Regions from separate parts of the Homo sapiens genome. Here regions 1, 2 and 4 are each linked to region 3. The links are contacts of gene promoters, found by promoter capture Hi-C in human tissues and cell types (Jung and others, 2019). All regions are on one chromosome and are shown on one strand. The core of a region is centred on a gene start or on the middle of the fragment in contact, and the rest is flanking DNA. Distances in the headings are between cores, read along the strand shown. Region 1 overlaps LINC02099 (long intergenic non-protein coding RNA 2099). Region 2 has its middle 23 kb from the start of LINC02209. Region 3 holds the start of DCTN6 (dynactin subunit 6). Region 4 overlaps LINC02099 (long intergenic non-protein coding RNA 2099).

What was found. Contacts are between HindIII fragments. The study calls those that stand out against the background at their distance.
Region 1: a fragment that was not itself captured here is called in contact with the fragment with the promoter of DCTN6 in region 3 in 2 of the 25 tissues and cell types used here (IMR-90 fibroblasts and lymphoblastoid cells).
Region 2: a contact is called between a fragment that was not itself captured here and the fragment with the promoter of DCTN6 in region 3, in 1 of the 25 tissues and cell types used here (aorta).
Region 4: a fragment that was not itself captured here is called in contact with the fragment with the promoter of DCTN6 in region 3 in 1 of the 25 tissues and cell types used here (mesenchymal stem cells).

The regions. Positions count from the first base shown.
Region 1 is chr8:29,775,352-29,780,625 of GRCh38, reverse strand. All of the region lies in intron 1 of LINC02099 (long intergenic non-protein coding RNA 2099), which reads right to left. Among named protein-coding and RNA genes, the nearest start is that of LINC02099, 30 kb to the right of the region's middle. The HindIII fragment of the contact is 7,253 bases long and covers 1-5,274 here.
Region 2 is chr8:29,895,148-29,900,966 of GRCh38, reverse strand. No RefSeq gene overlaps it. Among named protein-coding and RNA genes, the nearest start is that of LINC02209, 23 kb to the left of the region's middle. The HindIII fragment of the contact is 3,848 bases long and covers 1-3,464 here.
Region 3 is chr8:30,153,607-30,158,816 of GRCh38, reverse strand. DCTN6 (dynactin subunit 6) reads right to left here and starts at 2,448. Exons shown (of 7, transcript NM_006571.4): 1 at 2,411-2,448. The coding sequence starts at 2,433. DCTN6-DT (DCTN6 divergent transcript) reads left to right here and starts at 2,157. Exons shown (of 1, transcript NR_186490.1): 1 at 2,157-2,988. It overlaps LOC124901927 (a long non-coding RNA gene), which reads left to right and starts at 707. Exons shown (of 2, transcript XR_007060880.1): 1 at 707-793; 2 at 935-1,645. RefSeq lists a silencer at 2,078-2,187 and enhancers at 2,248-2,397, 2,341-3,323, 3,148-3,357. The HindIII fragment of the contact is 3,226 bases long and covers 645-3,870 here.
Region 4 is chr8:29,792,372-29,797,595 of GRCh38, reverse strand. It overlaps LINC02099 (long intergenic non-protein coding RNA 2099), which reads right to left. Exons shown (of 4, transcript NR_125815.1): 4 at 1-761. Among named protein-coding and RNA genes, the nearest start is that of LINC02099, 47 kb to the right of the region's middle. The HindIII fragment of the contact is 3,847 bases long and covers 1-3,531 here.

The DNA of each region.
Region 1 (5,274 bases), core at 994-3,493, 380 kb after region 3:
GCAGACATGAGGCTAATGAAGACTCTGTTCCTGATCTGCTGCTGCCTGAAACAGCTGCTTACAACAGCTCCTTCCTCGGGCCTGGAAACCAGATGTGAGGACATTTGGGAAATGATAATCCACTTGAAAAGCTGACCAGTGGCCAGGCCTTCTTTGCATGTTTCTGAAGAGCCCAGATAGTCATTGCCTTCCTCAAGGACAGACAACATAGTCTGCCTAGCCCACCGAGCTGCCAGGAGAAGCCAAGTGTCAGAGGCTTTAGTCCCTGGCGTGGCTCCTCCACTCCAGAGAGGAGCTGAAGGCAATTCTCTCGGTGCCCCGTAGCAGCAGAGAAATCTTTCTCCAGCCCTCGTGTACATCCTTGGGACAGAAACACACAGCCATTCTCCCTGCTCACAGCCAGGCCCCGTCAGCATAGAGAAGCACTTAGGGTTCCTTTGTGGGGTGCAAATCCAAACATGCAGTGATTTAATTTTTCTAACAACAGCATTTCTAGTCTTCCCACAGCACTAATCAGTTGCCACTAGAGCATCTCTTGCTTCCAAACATTTCCCTTTTTTTTTGCTTCTGGGAAAGCCCACAGTTCAGGACCCTTATCCACTTGGATGGCAATTCCATTCTTTGGCTTCTCTGGGGTAGATCAGACTTAAAAAAAAAACGAAAGCAAAAAAATCAAGCTTCCTTACCTATACCTATCTCTTCACAAATTCCTGTATCATGTTTGATTTATTTATCAGCCATGAGTGGATCCCACACTGCAGGACCCTAGGCAGTAATGGATCACCAGAGGGAAGAGATACCCTTTGCAGGCCACTCCTGACTTTTCTCTGCAGCTAGTGGCCTTGGGTCAGAGTCATTTTCCTCTCAGCAGGGCAGGTATCTCACTTGTAAAAGCTGAAGAATAGAAATGTTGGGGCCATAGTGATAGTCATCAGTTGGTCTACTGTGCAGTTTCAGGGTGAGGGTGGCAGCCACATTAACTACGAAGTCAGTGGCCTCTGGAACTGTGTAATACACACCTGCACACCCATGCAAAATGGCCCACTTGGTACCAGAACTCTAAATGCGAAGTTTTCCCAAGAGTTTGCACTGTGGCCAAGGAAACCCAGGATCCTGACTGGCCTGGCTTTTGGAATAATCGTCAAGAACCAGGGCTATGGGTCAGAGACTTTGAGTTTGAATTGCAGCTCTGCCACTTCCCAGCAGTGAGGCCGTGAACAAGTTAAATTTAGTAAGTGCTCAATAAATCTTTGCTAATTCATCATTATTATTCCTACTGCTACAGTGATCCTGTCTTAACCAGAGGCTGGCCCACCTGTGTGGCTCTGGTTCTCCCTCTGGCTGAATTGCACACTTCTGCACTTGGTCTTAGCCAAGAGGCCAAGAAGCAACTACCATTGCACACTTCTGGCCCTGAGGTGCATCTCTAGGTTTTAGGGCCCTTTCCAACTCACCTTGTCCTTGGTTATCTGACACAGGAAATCTGAATTCCTCCTCCTAAGCCTCATCACCCACCTTTTCCATAGCTGCCTAATGTCTTTTCATGGAAAAGTGTTTTGGCAGCAATTTGAATGATGAACTAGCCATTGAGTATTCACGAATAAATGAAGCAAATCCAAAATATCTTGCAATGAACACATTCATTGCAGCAATTGACCAAGCTGTCTGAGTCTTAAAATGAATCCAAGGTCTCCTGGAGATATTTTTTGCTTGTCTTTTGGTGAGATTTGCAGACAGAGCCTACTCCAAATATTTCTGAGTCTGTTGTTTAGTGCTATTTTGAGTGCTTTCACATGTGGAATTTATTCCTATACTTAGCTCTTACCCAGCACCCTGGGGTACTTGAAAATGTTTTCAATTGACCAACTGTAGTGTATTAACAAAACCTTGCATGTGCTTTGCAAAGCACTTAAATCCAGCTGACTTCCTATCTCAGCCTCCTTTTCCGGCATAATCTCCAGCCCAAGCTGTGCTGACCACACCTTTTGCAAAACTTTGACCAAAGAATGTGCCCAGCTGAGGATTGCCAGATCCCACAGACAGCATCAGGTCCCTATTATTGAGTGAGCCACAGAAATAAAATGCCATTGATGCCAGAAAGTGGGCTCTCAGAAAAATTTCAATTGGAGAAATACAACAGAAACATACACAATTAGGAGCATTGCCCAGTGTCTGGGCAATGTAGAATTTTTTACCCAAAGCTCTGTCCTTCTGTGTAGATAAAGGATATCGCTTGTCAAACAACACAGTGGCAATGTTCTGACTTTCTTATGCTTAAGCATGAACAAAAAACCTGGAGCTCATACCTCCACTCACCTTTCTTTTCTAATTGATCAAACTAAGCATTCTGACTCAGCGTTGTCCCGTGTCTAGGAAAAGAGAAACAGTTACCCACCCGGGAAACAGCGAAAGAGTGGTGCCTTGTAGTAAGGCTCTTTATATAACAAGAACGCAATCTGAAACTCCTAAGCCCTAGAAGATTTAGCCCAAATTAAGGACCTTGTTAGCAGCTGATTCCCAAGCCCTTCCTCTCCTTTCATTTCTTTTGTCGACTTGCAGCAAGCCACACAAAAGGAATCTCTTTCTTCTTCTGCCCACAGATTCCTTTCTCAAAAGCCATTCTAAGAAATAATCCAATTCTGTCTCAAATATAAGGGCTTTCATTCTCAGTCCATTATACTGTTTATCTTGGGAATTTCTTTCCAGTTTTAGGTTTTTGTTTTTTTTTTTCTACCCAAAGTTAAGCACATGGCTTGCACTGTGAGGAAGATTGTACTAGTGGTAGGAAATAGACCACCATCTTGGTATTGTGATCAAGCCACATGGGTTCTGGGCCCCGCGCTTTGTAAGCATACTTGGCAGAGGAAAATATATTTGTACTAAGAGGCAAATTATCCACAGTCAAAATGACTAATCATTGTTTAACTTAAATGTGAAAGATAATGGAGAGAGGAATGTAGCATTTGTAAGGAACTGAAAGACTGAATAATGTATTAGCAGGTGAGGTGTGGGCCTGTGAGTATGGACATATACCCATGGTATGTTTGTGTGTGGGGTTTATGTAAAACATAGAAAGACATATCTACTTCTGCAAAAATAAATCAAGAAAATATGCTATCTACTGCTACACTAGCATCACTACAGCACCACTATTAGCTGCTTTAACAAACAACCCAGGCAAGCTCAGTTTTTCTTAATTCCTTTAAAAATGTTTTATATATTTGAAATATCATATAATGGTATTTTGCTGACAAATCATAGAATCAAATGGCAAAATTTTTAAACACAGATAAAAAATTAAAACCATGGTGCAACACATAACACTATAAAATCTCTACTTCTGACTACTTCACAATTTAAAGTGGTGGTTTGTTATGCGAATAAAACCTATTTTGAATTTGCCCTATGAAAAATGACACAGAGATCAATAGTAAACTTTTTGGTGCTTCAAATGGGCTCAAATACATCTTGTTAGAATGGAGAATATCTTAGCATGGCTGATAACACAAAGGCAAATGATCCAGTAGTGTAGAGAAGGAAAATTGAAAGAGATTTTAAATTTGCTCATTCTGGTCTAGGGGAGGAATATTTGCCTGCTAATTTGCTCAAGGGCTGACATTCATGGAGCAAATTTTTCATCTTCGTGTTTCCATCTTAGGGAATTATTCTGGAGACTTCATATGCCTCCACCTCCACATCGAATTGGCCATCATATCCTGCAGAATTCACCTCTGAGGAGCTCTGGGACTCTCTCCTTTCCCCTTTGACTGCCATTGCCTTAAAACCAGCCTGTGGCATCTGCTTCTTAGGTTGCTATATTCTGTGCCTCTAACATCGTTCTCAACCCATTCTCCCTGCTCCAGCCAAAGAGAGCCTTCTGGAATAGAGAGCTACATGCCTTTTAACTGTTTAAAAACGCTCGGTGGGTTCTGGTTCTGGTCAAAATGCATGAAGCACATACCACTTTGTCTCTCCCACTGAATGCAGTGAAAATCCCTGGAGAAAATGCAGGGAGCAGCTACCGGCAGACACAGAAAAGTAAAACAATAACAGACAGATTGGGGAAGAACTCCAAGTACTGCAGAATGGGTAGCAGATGTAGTTGCAGGAAGAGCACAACAGAACAGAGAAATTAAAGCCCTGTATTTCTAGCCTGTGTACCCGGAAGGGGACCACCTACAAGCTGCAAAGTGTTAGGGAGATGCCAGAGAAGAGGGAGCTCAAGGAAGGGATCCTAGAAAGATGTAGATGAACTCCTGGGCTGCACATACCCCTGACTACTTAGTAAAAATCTCTGCTAAGGTGCCGGAACACCTGTGCACGTGGCTCCCACCTCAGGGGCGGCCTGCAAATGATTAGGCAGTTTCCAGAGCCCTTGGCATTGGTGCCAGATGAACCAGGGTTCAAATCTCTGTTCTGTGGGTCATCCTCCTCACCAGCTGTGTAAACCAGACAGCCAACACCCTCATCACCCTCTCTAGGCACAAAAAGAATTAACAAGAATTTGGGGGCTGAGTGAGTAGTGACAGAAGAGATTAGAAAAGTGTTCTACGAAAGGTGCCTGCTTTGGTTGGGATATGGTTTGTTTCCCCCACCAAATCTCATGTTGCGTTTGATCCCTAGTGTGGCTGTGTTGGAAGGTGGGACCTAATGGGAGATGTTTGGATCATGGGGGTGGATCCCTCATGGGTGAGTTGATGTCCTCCATTGGGAGTGAGTGGGTTCCAGGGGTTTGTAGAGGAAGTGGCTGGCACATTCCCTGGGGCTGGAGGACAAAGGAAGGGAGCAGAGGGAGGCTGAGACCCTGGCTTGCCCACAGGCCACCTACATGTTCAGGACACAACTGGGCTGGCTGGGAATGGGGATGAATGACCCGTGATGGCGGCAGCAGTACTCTACGGGTTCTTCCTGCACATGCACTCTGATCAGGGACACATGATGGCAGAACATACAGAGGGCCATATGGAGTTTTGTGTTCTCTTTCCAATTTCTGCATGTATCCTCAGTCTTAACAGTAGAGTCTCTGTTTCCTTAGCTGACATTCTAACTGCCCCCTAGACAGCCCCACCTGAGTCATCCTTCACATCTGTGCACCCAACAACCCATCTTCCCCTTTTTCCAAAGAGGCCCATTAAAGGTTAGTGAAAGTCCAAGAGCAGCATTTCTTCCCATGTAGTGTGGCAGGAAATTCTTCTTTACATTCATGCACTCTTTTTCTCTCTCTCCTGTGAAACTTCATAAAAGTCTACCCCTCTGGCCCCTCATTTTCCTTCC
Region 2 (5,819 bases), core at 291-2,790, 260 kb after region 3:
CTAATATACAAGAAAAGCAGAAAAATAATATATCATATACCAATGTACTTGCCATTTAGATTTTCCAAATGTTAATATTCTTTTTATTAGGATTTATAAAGGAATAAAACATTACAAATACAGCTGAAGTCCCGCCTTTCCATCACATTCTCCTCCCTCTGTCTTTGGGCAGAAGTAAGCTAATAATAATTCAGGATGTTAATCTCTGGAGTGTGTGTTCTTGGAGTGCAGCACTATATCTTATTCATCTGGAATTTTTAGCTAATAGCAGTGCCTGACCCTAGAAGAGATAAATAAATATTCAGACAATTAAAGAATAAATGAATGAAAGGGATTGTTTTTATAATAATAATAAAAATTGTTATCCTTTGCCATATCTAATAGGGGCTCTGTAAATGTTTGATGAGTTTGGGAATTAATAAAAAAGTTTTGGTCTCTTACTGAGAATAATTTGCCCTTAGCTCTTAAAAAAAACTCATGTTTTGGCATCTTTAGACTTTGTGTACAATGTAATTTTTAGGCTTCATATGCAAAATATGCAATATAGAAACATGATCTACCTTAAGAAACTTACAAGGCATGTAGAATTAATTTCAGACGCAAGAAAGAAAAGATGTGTGATTGCATGAGATGTATTAAGAAAGAAGTCAACTAAATTAATGTCACTAGAAACTCTTCACATTTGATTTGAGTGGAAAATATTCTAGATCACCAGTTCACAGAAGCTGTTGTCAGGAAATGCCAGCCCCAATAACCTGATGCACATGGAGGTAACACACACACACACACACACACACACACACACACCCTCTGTTCATTTGTGTCTCTTCTTCACTGTGCAGGTCCATGAAATCTCCTGGGGACTGTGAAGAACTGGGATGGCTAGTGTGAAAAACAGCAGTCCCCAACAATTTTGGTACCAGGGACTGGTTTCATGGAAGACAATTTTTCCATGGACCTAGGCACGGGGTGGGGGTGTGGGGATGGATTGGGGATGATTCAAGTGCATTACATTTATTGTGCACTTTATTTCTATTATTGCATTGTAATATATGATGAAATAATTATACAACTCATCATAATGTAGAATCAGTGGAAGCCCTGAGCTTGTTTTCCTGCAACTAGATGGTCCCATCTGAGGGTGATGAGAGATAGTGATAGATTATCAGGCATTAGATTCTCATAAGGAGTGCACAATCTAGATCCCTCATATACACAGTTCACAATAGGGTTTGTGCTCCTATGAGAATTTAATGCAACCATTGATCTGACAGGAGGTAGAGCTCAGGTGATAAAGCAAGTGATGGGAGCAGCTGTAAATACAGATGAAGTTTTGCCCCCTTTCCTGCCATTCACCTCCTGCTGTGCTGCCTAGTTCCTAACAGGCCACAGACTGGTACTGGTTTGTGGCCTGGGGGTTGAAGACCCCTGGTGTAGAAGAACTAGAATTTTAGCTCTTGTTATAAGAAGCTTCTCATGGTAAGTTAATACAACCAACCACCCAGCAGGCACATTTTTTTTTTTTCCTGTGGGACACTAGCAATCTCTTCCATGTTTCCATGTCTTCTTAACCACCTGTTTCCTTGATGGAAGGATATTGATGTTTCCACACAGATTTGGAGTAAAAAGCTTGGTTTTATTCATTTTCCCCTCTGAATTAGGGAAGCTTTTCAAAATGAACATACTGAACAGCAAATTATCATCCCATTAAGCGCTTAAAATTATAGGCAGCTGAGCCAAACCTGCTACCAGCCCCCGCCACCCCTTCCCTGGATACAGTCTAACAAGCCAGCTACAAATTCCAGATGATCAATTTGCTTAGCTGTGATGGTAATTTAGAAACCCAGTGTTTTGCTTCAAAGTCATTGAGAGGCAATCTCGAATGATAGGCTGTGCTTCATGCACTCTTTGGCAAGAAATTTACTTGGGCTCTCGTGTGCTTCTTGGTTGGGTGTCCAGCAGTTCTGGGCATCAGAAAGGAGCCCTGCACCATTGGTTACTGCTGCACCATGGAATGACTTTCTGGTTCTCCTGCTGCTTGCACCACCACCACATTTTCCCTAGATATAGTTTCTCCATATGAACTGCAATTGTTTTCCAGTACTTTTTTGCACAAGTCAAGTGGCCATGACAAGTAGGGTGCGTGCTCATATCTGTTAACTCCTTAATTTAATTAATCCATTCAATGCTTGCTGAGCACCTTGTATGTTTTGGGCATTGTGCTGAGTGCTGAGGATTAAAAGTTGGGTCAGAAACAGTCACTGCCCGCAAGGAGCCCACAGTCTAGCAAGAAAGAGAGACATATAATGAAAGGATGGCAATGCACTGGCCTATCCTGGAAACAGAGACAAGGTGCCACCATGAGATCTGTATTGATCAAGTATGTTCTAAAGAACATAAGGCACTTTTCCAAGAGTCATATTTCTTCTATCCTCCCCAGTTGGTAGGGCTGTGTAATTGTTGTCTGCAAAGGTTAAATGAAAGCCCATTGATATAGTTTCGCTGTGTCCCCACCAAATCTCATCTTGAATTGTAGTTCCCACAATTCCCACATGCCATGGGAGGGACCTAGTGGGAGGTAATTGAATCATGGGAGCAGGTCTTTCCCATGCTGTTCTCATGATGGTGAATAAGTCTCATGAGATCTGATGGTTTTATAAAGAGGAGTTCCCCTGCACAAGCTGTCTCTTGCCTGCTGCCATGTAAGACATGCCTTTTGCCTTCCACCATGATTGTGAGACCTTCCCAGCCACGTGGAACTATGATTCCATTAAACCTTTTATTCTTTATAAATTACCCAGTCTCAGGTATGTCTTTATCAGCAGCGTGAGAATGGACTAATGCAGCCATACATGATAGAATGAGTCTCCAGAAATTCCAATTTCCCAGTATTCTCTGTATGCTCCCCTACATAGTAGACTCCAAATGAATTGGATTCACTCACCATCCCCCAAAGACACATTGCCCTGCCTTTCTTCTGTTCATGCTCTTGTCTCTGCCTGGAATGCCTCCTTCCTGTTGCTGTGTTTAGAAATCTTGGCAGTACTTCAAGGCCAGGCCCACTTTGCTCCAAGTTCCTGGAGTACTTGGTGCTATTTAGAGTAAGGAGCATGGAGCACGTGGCCGTGCCTGAGTGCTTTAGGTTCAGCTGAGTCCCCATTGTGGACTGTGAACATCACAGGGGCTCACAGTCCCTTGGAGAACATAAAGTGCCCCCATACAATTTTCAGTAACCACTTGTTCACTGAATAGGAACGTTTCAATATCAAGGATAGAAAACTCAGCTTTGATTTTCCTGGCTGAGCTGTTACCAGGAAATTCCCTAGACTCACAGTTTGAATCTCATCACCCCTAAAGTGAGGAGTATTTACAAGCCTAATGACAGAGTTTCATTATCTGGAGACAAGACCTGGAGGGAGATAAAAAAGCTTTGTTTCTATGTTCTGTTTTCTTAGGGTAGAAACATTCCAAATAATTTTATGCCAGGCCAGAAAAGAAAGCTTTGTATTAAATATGGAGGACCTGCCTCCAAACAGAGGTGTTGACTCTGATCTAAAGTCACAGACATTGCTGTGGAAATTTTCTTGTTACCAGCTTTGTGCAGCCGTGGTTGGAGGGTCATTCTATCAGCCCAAGGGGGTTCCAGTCCCGCAGCTTGTCAGGAGATGCTGGTGAGTGGAAACAGAATCCTTCATCCTACAAATCACAGATGTGATCTTGACGGTCACGTTGGTTGGAGTCTTGAGATGCAGGTCCTCAATACCTATTAACCTCACCAGGATATGGTAACCTTTGTCTTCTTTGTCATTTTCATAGTTAACGTGGTAACAATGTTTGATAAATGACAATGAGGAGTTAATTCCATTGTGGCATTGAAAGGGAATACACATGGTTTTTAGCTTGAGAGTCCTACAACTTAACAGAAAAAGACAAGAAAAGCGCACATTCCAAAGGCATGAAGACAAAGAACAGACACCCCTAATTCCATATGGTTTGGATGCTCTGCATTTTGCTCCTGGCTATGCCAGGTAGTCACTCAGGTTGGTGGGGTCTCGGTGCCTGGGACACCCACCAATAACCATTTCTGTCTGGTCCTATGATGGTGTTAGATTCTGCAGATAGTCCTGGTTCTGAGAATACCAAAGGGATCAAAACACAGTAAGTAGTCCAAGCCAGTATTGTTGATTCCAAGAAATCACTTGGTTAATTGTATTGGCATTTATAGGACATATCGAAGAGCTGGAAGTAATGTAAGTGACGTGGATATCTGGGTGATGGCAAGTATGATGGGTGGGGATATTGACTATGTTAGGTTGGATGATCTCATAGCCTGATTTTAGGATGATGGTCCTGGTTCATGTGGAAGATATATGAAAGGTTAGAGCAAAAGTCTACTGAAGGCCAGGGGCAGTAGCTCATGCCTGTAATCCCAGCACTTTGGGAGGCCGAGGTGGGTGGACCACCTGAGGTCAGGATTTCGAGACCAGCCTGGCCAACATGGTGAAACCCATCTCTACTAAAAATACAAAAATTGGCCAGGCATGGTGGTTGGCGCCTGTAATCCCAGCTACTCAGGAGGCTGAGGCAGGAGAATCGCTTGAACTCGGGAGGCAGAGGTTGCAGTGAGCAGAGATCATGCCATTGCACTCCACCCTGGGCAATAGAGCAAAACTCCATCTCAAAAAAAAAAAAGTCCTCTGATGTAAGGCTCAAAGCATGAGGTCCAGGATTCTAGGCAAGGAGGTTAGGAGTCAGCTTCTGGGTCGATGACTAGAGAGATTCTTCTCAGGTTTCACTGAGGCAGTGAACTTCAGCAGGGTTTTGGAAGAGAAAGGAGCACTTCTTTATTGAGAGGATGAATGTATGTGAAACAAGGGAAGATGGTGAATGATTTCTATCTGCTAACTGAGCAGACTGGTCCAGGACGCTACTCTGTCCTTCTGGGGAAAATCTGAAACATAACCCTTGGTGTCTTACAAACCCTGGAGAAGTCAATGTGTAGGGTGGCACTGTCAACCTAAGAAATGGGCAGTTGCCTCTCATTTTAAAACCACCATCAGGATTATTTATTTGGCTTCCTTGGCAGTCAGAGAGAGTTGGCAGCTAACTCCCTTGGCTTGGCAGAGTCATGAGGCAGTCTTGAAAATCTGTTGCATTTTAAAAATTGTATTGGAAATTCTGAGATATTTTAATCAGTTTAGAATCAATCCACCTCAGAAAAAGAGGATGCAAGTTTGAAAACCATGCCAGTGTAGCTTTTTAATAGCTAATTATGCTATAGGCAGGGAAATGGTCAGGCAGTGACTCTTAGAATGAATAATGACATTAGATGAAATACAAAACAAATCCATACAGGTTTTATTGGATTGGAAGTAAGAGACAGAGAGAGGCTGAAAATTTACCCAAATCTGATTAGGGAAATAAAACCTCAGACAGAAAAATGATGGATGGTGTGAGCTGTTTAATTTGGGTCCCTTAGAGAGGTAATGTCCTCAGAGAATACACCACAGAGTTTCAGAGCTGAAGGGAGTTCAGGCATTTAATCCAGATGCTCATTTTTACAGAAGAGAAAACTGAGGCTTAAAGGAACAAACAACGTGACCAAGGTCTTACCAGCTGATAAGGGACAGAGTTTAATTTTTTTTTTCTTTTTTTTTTTTGAGACAGGGTTACACTCTGTCACCCAGGCTGGAGTGCAGTGGTGCCATCTCGGCTCACTACAACCTCTGCCTCCTGGTTTCAAGTGATTCTCATGCCTCAGCCTCCCGAGCAGCTGGGATTACAGGTGCCTGCCACCAAACCCGGCTAATTTTTGTATT
Region 3 (5,210 bases), core at 1,199-3,698:
GAGTGAGACTCCGTCTCAAAAAAAAAAAAAAAAAAAAAGGAACCAGGCATGGTGCAAAGCTTTCACTGCACTCCAGCCTGAGCGACTCTGTCTCACAAAAAAAAAAAAAAAAAAAGTCAATCTACTGAAATAACAGAAAATATGTAGCCCTCCTGCTGTATTGAAGAAGAAAGATTTTAGTAAGATTAGAAGAAAATCACCTGGTCTAACCCTCTCATATTATAGAAGAAAAAACTGAAATTCAGAGACTAGAAATTTCTTGGAGCAGAGTTCATTCCTGGGGCATCACTGTCCTGAAATCAGTCATCTGTCTTCTAGTTGAAAGTTTTCTGGAAACATCCTGTCACTCCAGATGTTTTTCCATGATAAATGAGCGACACTGTCCTTGAATGTATCACCAGCTGTAAATGTCATTTCTCTGATACTTTTCATTTAAAGTGGGTTTTTTTTGTTAAAATATGCAATTTTATTAAGCCCTGGTCAAATACATTAGCCTCTATAAAATGTCTCTTGTTTTAGACCTTATTTCTCATTGCAATTTTCCATTTCCTCAGCTTCCTTCTCATTATGAAAAGAGCATTATCTAACATTGAACTTGTCCTGGGCAACTGAGAGTAGGAGAGACTCACAAATGCCCCCTGCCTTCAGTTTTACGCCCAAGGGAGAGATCCCAGGTAATGCTTGCGTCACAATCAGCACACTTCTCAGTGGGGCAGGCCACTAGGCCAACTAAAACGTGGTCCCGATATCTCTGCAAGGACCCCTTGTATCTCGGAGTGGTGGGAGCAGAGAGGTGAGCCGGCAGATGGGAGGGCAAGACTTAACCTCAGATCTGTAAAAGTAACAAGTCAACAATACCTTAATCTTCACTGTAAGCTACTATCTACTGCTATCTACTGCACATAATATTTATAGTACATCTGTTCCTCTTTAGCTTATGAAAAAAGATTACAGAGTATCTACTTAAATGGAAGAAAAATCTACATTTTAATTTATGGCACCAGAAACAATGTCAGTTTTCTTTGTCAAAAATAGTCAGCAGAGGGAGCTCAACACTGCTGCTGTTCGAAATGGCTTTACTTATGCACTTGTCTCATCCCAGCCACCAACAGCCACCAACAGCCCCCAGCAATGAAGACTACCGGAGAAGAAGCCAAACTTCCTGTCCCCACATGTTTACAAAGGAGCTTGTCCACTCCACGCCTGGCAAAAAATGTCACAGTTCTAAGCTTATACACTATTGGTGGGAATATAAATTAGTTCATCTATTGAAAATAGTATGGTGATTTCTCAAAGGACTAAACACAAGTACCATTGGACCCAGCAATCCATATAGAGCTACCAATCCAAACGGAACTACCATTCGACCCAGGATCTACTCAAAGGAAACCATTGTATTAAAAAGACAACTGCACTCCTATGACTATCACTGTACTATTCACAATAGCAAAGTATGGAATCAACCTAAGTGTTCATCAACGGATGACTGGATAAAGGAAATGTGGTGTATCTATACGATGGAATACTACAGAGCCATCAAAAAGAAAGGAAACATGTCTTTTGCAACAACATGGATGGAACTGGAGGCCATTACCTTACGCGATAACTCAGAAATAAAATCAAATGCACATGTTCTCACTTTTAAGTGGGAGCTAAAATGAGTACACATAAACATAAAGAGGGAAATAACAGACACTGGGGACTCTAAAAGCAGCGAGGGTAGGAGGGGTTTGAGGGCTGAAAAATTACCCATCTGATACAATGTTCACTATTTGGGTGGTAAGTACACTAGAAGCCAACTTCACCATTACGCAATTTATCTATGCAACAAATCTGCGCAAGTACTCCTTGCATCTATATAATGTGTGTGTGTGTGTGTCACAGTTCAAGTCCAGGCGCGGCCCCCCTTTTGACAGCGACCGTAAATCCCTTTACACACCCCACCCTCCAGAGACAGGAAGGGCCTGGGGTGCGGCCAGCACTGGCGTGGGGGTCTCGCAACATGCAGCAGAGAATCCAGCGCCAAGCCGTGGGGTACAGCGGCGCCAAGCACCGCCGATTATGCGGGAGAAGGGAGCCGGCCTTCCCCAGGAAAAAGCTGACGTCACCCTCCCCTCACAGCCCCCCCCGCCCTCCCGGCCGGGAGACCCCCTCTGCGCAGGCGCATGTGGGGAGGGACGGCCAGACAGGAACAAAAACCTTCCAGGCAGCGACTCCGCGTCCCTTCTCAACCCTCCCCGCCCCCACTCCGTCGCCCCCTCCCTCAGTGGACGCCAGGTCTGGGCTTCAGGTACCTTCGGCCCGAATGCCCAGGATGAGACACCTTCTGAGTCGCCACCATTGGCGACCAGGAACAGGTTCCACCCCTACGGAAAGCTGAGAAAAGGCTTTTCTCAAGCAGCAAACCCACCTCTTTTGAGTCTTCTCCGCCATGGTACGGCCCCAATTGGAACGTAGATCGACACCACCGCCTGGGTAGAGCGATAATTCCACATGCGATTGGAGAGCCTGGCAGGGTTGGGGGAGGGGCGGAGCCGGGGTGGGGCGGGGACCCGGAAGCTTGCGACTCTTGTTTGCGTCGCGTCTGGGCGCACAGGACTGTACTTTTGGTAGCGGTGCGGGGCCGCCCGCGGACTTTAGCCCTGCATAGAGATGGGTAGACCCTAATTTGGAACAGCCATTGACTGGGCACAGGCCAGCACTTTGGGAGGCCGAGAGGCCGAGGCAGGAGGATCGCTTGAGGCCAGGAGTGCCAGACTGCGAGACTAGCCTGGGTAACATAGTGAGACCCTCTCTTCAAAAAAAAAAAAAAAAAAAAAAAAAAAAAGCCTGTCACGGTGGCCTGCGCCTGTACCCCAGCTACTCGAGAGGATCGCCTGAGCCCAGTGAAGCTGCAGCGAGCTGTGAGGATGCCACCGCACTCCGGCCTGGGCTAAAAAGCTAGATCGTGTCTCTGATAAAAGAATAAAAGCTGTTTATTGCAATCCAGTCCGCGTCATTATGCCCTCATTTTACCCACTCGCGTAGGCGTAATTACACCCTAAAGGTATTTCTCTGACCTCGCCGATGTCCTTTTCAGCCTGTCTTTCTCTACTCATTAGGGCTCCTTCTGGCCCTTTTCTCGCTCTATATGAGTGCATCCTTCCTATAGGTTAAGTGCCCTCTACCTGTTTGCTCTCTAATGAATGTCTCTGGTTCTGCCCTCTGTGCCGATCTTCACACCTGACATTCGGTTGACTAATTGACATCTCCGCTCAGAGTCGTATCGAACCTAAAACTTACAGAACATGACTTTCGATTAACACTGCCGTCCTCCCTGCAACCTGCTGCTTTTTTGATCCACACCATTTGCCTAGCTGCTCAAGCCAGACACTCAAGAGTCACCCTGGCACTCCTCACCCCTACATCTGTAATAGATCTGCAAGTTCTGCTTGTCCTACCTCGGGTCTCATGCTTACACTTTTGTCTACCGGACCATCTCTCTAATCTCAGCCGATGTGTCTCTCCCAGTTGTTCACTCATTCTGTACTTGGCCTCTGAAATCACACCTCCTCATCTCCCACCCCCAACCCTGATCCAAGTAGTTCTCTTGTAGTCAAAATCATCCTTTAAAAGACAAATTGAGGCCAGGCGCGTGGCTCAAACCGGTAATCCCAGCACTTTGGGGGGCCGAGATGGGAGGATCGCTTGAGGCCAGGAGTTGGAGACCAGCCTGGTCAACACAGCATGATCCCGTCTCTATATATTTTTTCTATAATGTATTTTTTTAATGGAAAAAAATTAAAAATAAGAGCCAAATTCAGTTATTTCCCCTTCCTCTTAAAATCTAAAATCCAAACTGCTTTCCATAACCTATCTCTGAGCTACATCCAGCCCCTGCCTACTTCTCTCTTTCTCTTTCTATGTGTTCGATCACACCCTCATTCTCCAAAAAAGCAAAGCTGACTCTCCACCCCCAACCGCTTCCACTTGCCCCCACCCTAACACCTTCTGACCCTTTATGTCTCGGATGTCACATACTCAGTTTCCAACCAGAGAAACAGAACTAGTAGTAGATGGATATCAAAAGGCTTATTGTAAGGAATTGGCTTACATGATTGTGGAGCCCCAGCTAAGCAAGTCCAAAATCTGTACACTAAGCTGGAACTCTCATGCAAGGGGTGAGGCTGTTGTTCACAGGAGGAATTTCTTCAGGGAAGCCCATCTCAGCTCTTATGGCCTTCAACTGATTGAATCAGGCCCACCCAGATTAGCTAGGATAATCTCTCTTCCTTAAAGTGAACTGATGATGGGCTTTAATCACATCCACAAAAATACCTTTACAGCAGCATCTAGATTAGTGTTTGACTAATGACTTGGGAATGTAGCCTAACCAAGTTGACACAAAAAACTGACCATCACACTCAGGGAAACCCTCCTTGACTGTCTTAGTTCTTTCTGGCTGCTATAACAAAATACAGTTGGCCCTTTGTATCTGTGGGTTTGACATCTGTGACTGGTTGACAGCAACCCACGTTGGATCAAAAATTTGGGGGAAAAAATTACGCAAGTTTCCAAAAAGCAAAACTTGAATTTGCTGCATGCCAAGTGCTACATTGAAGCCACATGAATGAAGTGATATGTAGGAATTGTATTAGATATTCTGAATAATATAAAGATGATTGAAAGGATATGGGAGGATATGCATCAGTTAGTTATATGCAAATACTACACCATTTTATATCAGGGGCTTGAGCATCTGCAGATTTTGGCATCAGGGTGTCCAGGAACCAGTTCCCCAAGCATACTGAGGGACAGTTATACCTTAGACTGGGTATAGTAGTCCTTTCTTATCCTCGGGGGATACATTCCAAGACCTCTAGTGGATGCCTGAAACCACAGATAATACTGAACCCTCTATATACTATGCACACATTTCCTTTTCCTCATTAACAGTTTCATGGGTAAAAGATTTATTCTTACCATAGATCTTAGCAACCTCAGCATATAGTTTTTTTTCTTTCCTTTTGAAATCAAGAAGTTTTCACATTTTCACTTAAAGCATTTTACAGTTTCTCTTTGGCAGATCCAAATCACCTGCATCGCTACTTTTGTGCTTTGGGGCCATTATGAAGTAAAATAAGAGTGACTTGAACACAAGTACTCTGATACTGCAACAATGTATCTGATAACTGAGAAAGCTTTAATGGGCAGGTAGTACCAACAGTGTG
Region 4 (5,224 bases), core at 359-2,858, 360 kb after region 3:
CTGTTTTTCTTATCTTCGCCAGGCCAGATTAGGAAGTGGAACCTCAGACAGGTCAAGTGACTTTCCCAAGTTTGCAGCCAGGAAGCACCTACTGGGTTGTGTTGGGGGAAGGGCTGGGGACAGTGACATTGTGCTTGGCAAGCACAATTGCTTTCTGTTGCTACTACTGACCACACTTTTCAGAATGTGGGCCAACATCTCCAGGGAGAACAATGATAAGTTTGCTTCTGAACCTCTGGCAGGGTGTAAGCACTGATCTTCAGTAATAAACCATAGCCTGTGATGTTAGTATCAGGTCTTCTGCTTTGATGATGGTTTGCCAGGCAGTCCTCTATCACCCTGGAGTTGGAACTTTCTCAGCTACTAGAGTGTCCCAGAGTATTTGAGCTCTGTCCCTATAATTGGTCATTTCCCAGGTTCTCCAGCAGCTCATGAAGCTTCTTTAGCAGTTAATGCTGGAAGTTTGAGACCTCTCTCTGGAGCTCCCTTCAACCTCTGAGATGAGGTCTTCATCCTCTACTCTGGGTAGGAGAGAAGATGCTTACCATCCTGAGTGAGTCACACCTGGAAATGGCCAGGAACCAAAACTGCCTGGAGGCAAAGGAGATGTGAAAGGGATCCCAGCAGAGCAGAAGGCAGACTTCACACCTCTTCTTCTTCTTCCCTGATGCTTCCTGTGGGAGCAGCTGGGCATTCTCCAGATTCTGTTTCCTGAAGCTTACCATCCTGGTCCAGCATCCCATGGTCATGACCGCCTAAAACTTACCGGAAATGGGGAGGAAGAGGGCTGGGCTCAGCTCAGCGCTACTTGCTCAGGGAGTGTCCATGTGAAAGCTAGTGTGTGGGGGGAGCTAATGAAGGGAACTGTGGCACACACAGTCCAGGTGGGGTGCTCCAGTGGGCAGAGGAAGGTCAGGGATTGTGTTGGGGCATGGAGGTGTGGAAGCGGGGAATGATGCATCAAGCTTGCTTGACTGACAGTCACATTCGCTTGCTCCATACCACCTTCCTTTATTAGGTAAAAATGTGCTTTTTTGGCATGGAGGGAAACAGAAAAAATGAGATGGCTATTTGGGGGTGTCCTATGTTTCCCCACTCTTATGCCCCAGCTTTATCATTTACACTCCCCACCCACCCATTTATCTACTCCCCCCACCTCTGTTAACAGGAGTGGATCACAATGGGCTTTGGTGCTGCAAAGTGACCTCATGTAAGCCTCTGGCATCTCTGCATTTTTGTTCTCGTTTTTATAAAACTTCTATTTTAAATTCAGTGGTGCACGTGCAATGTATTGTATATTTCAAAATAGAAGAGAGGACTTGAAATGTTCCCACATAGAAGTGATAAATACTGAAGATGATGGACACGCAGATACCCTGACTTGATCATGACACATTCTATGCATAATTGATACATAATACTTTTACATATTGATGGGGTACATGTGATACTTTGTACCTCATAAATATGTAAAAGCATTATGTATCGATCAAAAAAGTAAAAAACATAAGAAATTTCTAAAAATACACCATGATTCATGTCATGATCCTTCTATTATTGACTGATAAGATTTTTTTCTAAATTTGTGTTATTATGAATAACATTGTAAGAAACTTTTTGATATGTAATTTCTTGCCTCCAACACTGATTTCTTCTTTGGGAAGGATTTCTAGAAGGGAAATTAGTGGACCGATGATGTAAAGGTATAAAGATGTAAAGGCATTTGATTGCTTTCCCAAGAGGATGAATCTCTACATATCTCCACCCACAGTCTGTGAGATTACCCATGCCAGACAAAGAGAATTACTGCCATCATGAGTATTATAATTCTTTAAAACATTTGCCAATTTGAAAGGAGATGGAATACCTCTCTGTAACATTAATTCCTGATTCTTTGATTACAAACAAGAGCACCTATATTTCTTTTTCTAACCATTGATTTTTTATGAAATGTCATTTGTGTATTGTTTTTATTTATTAAAGAAAAATGTAATATTTTATTAAATAATTTAGGAATTATTTATAAATTTTTATGTTGAGATTTTTAATTTGTTCCTTTATCCCTTTGTTCATTTATGAATAATCAACAGGTGCCTACCATGTGCCAGACACTGCTCTGACTAGACCCTGGGAATACTGCTGTGAATAAAATAAAGTCCCTGTCCTGTAGTGGGGTGGTGGGAAGAGAATGGATAAATGATGATTGGTGCTAAATAGAAAAGTAAATCAAAGAAGGGGCTACTGAGTACTGGGAAATGCAGTTTACAGTCAGATGGTTAGATAACTTCTCACTGAGATGACTTTCTTAAAGAAAGGGAAATCACAGGAAAATTAACAAATAAGCCATGCAGGAATTTGGAGGAAGTGTTCTATGCAGGAGAAACAGCAAGTGCAAAGTCCCAAGGCAGAAACACATCTGGCATGTTAGAGGAGGAAGAAGGAGGATGGTGTATTTGGAGCAGAGTAAGAAGGGAAAAAAGTAGTTGAAGATGAAGTCAGAGAGGTAAATGGAGCCAGAATATGAGGATTCTTTTGAATCACTCTGTAAACTTTGACTTTCTCCTCAGAATGAGCTGAAAGACATTGGAAGTGTATTAGTCAACTATTATTGCCTAATGCTGCATAACAAGCAATCCCAATTTTCAATGGTTTACAAGAACCAACTTTATTTTTCGCTTATGGTTCTGTGGGTCAATTGTGGAGGCTCTGCTTCAAGCTGAAGATTGGGTTCCTGATGGCTTCAACTGCCTCTGCATTCTGAGATGGAAGCTGCCAGAGCATGCTCTGCTAATGGCAGATAGCAGAAAGACAAGAGGGAAAGCCGCCAAACCAGCAAGCACGCTGAAAACCTCTGCTCACATCCGTTGGTCTAAGCAAGTCATTTGACCAAGCCCAATATCCATGGGGCAAAGATGTAATACAATCTTCCACAGAAGGTAGAGGAGTAGAGAGGTGAACTGATTTTTATGTTAAAAAATTACTTCTAGACCCACAAACCATCACTAGTCTAAACCATGTTTAGTCGATAGTCTTTTTCAGATGCAATATCCCACATTCTTAAATATTTTAAAAATTGTTAATGAGGTAGAAATAGCATAAGTCCTATCACAATTAATATCCTCTCCCACTACTCCCTATCTATAAAAGCAGAACCCTGGAAGCAGGAAGAGAGAATCATTGCAAGTACAAGTTTTCACCTAGCAGGAAGTGCTGTGCTGTGGAGATAAATAATGCTTTCCCACTAAAAACCACATTAAAAAATTAGGGATCCCAGCATCCCACTTGGATATTTATGCAGTAGGTTTGCTGATTTGCCCCTTCTGCTAATTTGGGGAGTAGAAAAATATAACAATTGGCATTATGTTTGGCCGAAAGTAACAAAATCTCAACTATAAAGGGCTTAAACAATAAAGTATCCATTCGTCTCAGGCAAAACATATCTAAATAGGCAGTCCAGAGTTCACAATGTCATCCATATCCCAGCCTCTTTCTCTCTTTGTACTCTGCTATCCTTGGCTTGTGGCTTTCATCCTCAGAGTCACAAGACGGACATTACATCCACATTCTAGGCAAGATGAATGGAGAAAGGGCAACAGGCTAAAGGGGGTCTACTGGTTCAGTCTGTGGCCTTTAAAAACATTCCCCAAATCCCTTCCCGATAACCCTTATTAAAGCAAGCGGGAAGGGGTTATGAGTAGCTCTTGGGTAGCCAATCCGAAGTGTTTTCAACAGAACAGAGGATAAGTGGAGAGAGATGATAGAACAGGGAGCCATGCATGAAAGAACCAGCACTCCTACTATTGGGCATGGCAAAGATTATCAAATCTCTAGGGATCGATTGGCACCAGAGCTAGTGATCTGGCTTGAAACTTCCTGTCTAGGGAAGGGCATAGGGCTGGTCTTGCTACCTGTGCCATAGTCAGGAATGATCCAATTTCATTTCCTTTTTTAAACCAATTTAATTTAAAAATATTTTAATGGACTTTAATTTTTAGAGAAGTTTTAGATCCATAGCAGAATTGAGCAGAAAATACAGAGTTCTGTTCTGTTATCCTGACCGCACACCTGCAGAGTCTCCTTCACTATTGACATTCTGCACCAGAGTGGGACATTTGTTACAATTGATGACCCTACATTGACATGTCATTCTCACCCAAAATCCATAGTTTACATTACAGCTCACTCTGGGTGTTACACTGACAAAGACTCCTGATCCTTGACCAAGCTGTTGTTATGCTCCTCTGAGTCCTCTTCTTGACTAGGCCTCGACCTGGGCCTCCGGCCTGTCCTTGCTGGGCTTGCATCACTCAGTAAGTATCTTGTGGCTGGGCGCGGTGGCTCACGCCTGTAATCCCAGCATTTTGGGAGGCCAAGGCAGGAGGATTGCCTGAGCTCAGGAGTTTGCAACCACCCTGGGCCACATGATGAAACCCCGTCTCTACTAAAATACGAAAAAATTAGCCAGGCATGGTGGTGCATACCTGTAATCCCACCTATCTGAAGGCTGAGGAAGGACAGTCGCTTGAACCCGGAAGGCAGAGGTTGCAGTGAGCTGAGATCACACCACTGCACTTCCACCTGGGTGACAGAGGGAGACTCTGTCTAAAAAAAATCTTGCTCGGTCAGTTTAGTGAGAAACGCTACATCTTTGAAATCTGATCACTCTGGATGTATGATCAATTTCTGCTTCCCCCACTCTTGATATCTGGTCACCCTGGCTTGCCTTTAGCAAGAACCCTAAGTTGGTTTAACAAGAATCTCTCTGCTCTTGATTTCTCCTCTTAGGAATTTTCCACCCACTGATTCCCTCATTCTATTCATGGGCTATGAGTCCTCAGCTGTCTTTGTTATATTGGAATTGAGCCTGAATTCTCTAGCCTGTTGTAGTAAGTTTCAACACCCATCGTAATAGTCCTGAATAAAATCTTCATTATTGTTTTAACAAGTGGCAGAATAATTTCTTCTTTAACAATATAATCTATGGGTTTGGACTATATAAAATGTCATATAGTCACCGTTATAGTATCATACAGGGTAGTTTCAACTGCCCTAAAATTCCTCTATGCTCTGCTTATTCATCCCTCCCTCCCCACTAACCTCTGGCAACCACTGACTATAATAAAGACATCCCAGATACTTGCAGATTTCCTGATCTCGGGTGTTCTATGGGAGTTATGGAGGCCTGTGACCACACTTTGTCGTAAGAAGCTCATGGGAGGGTGGA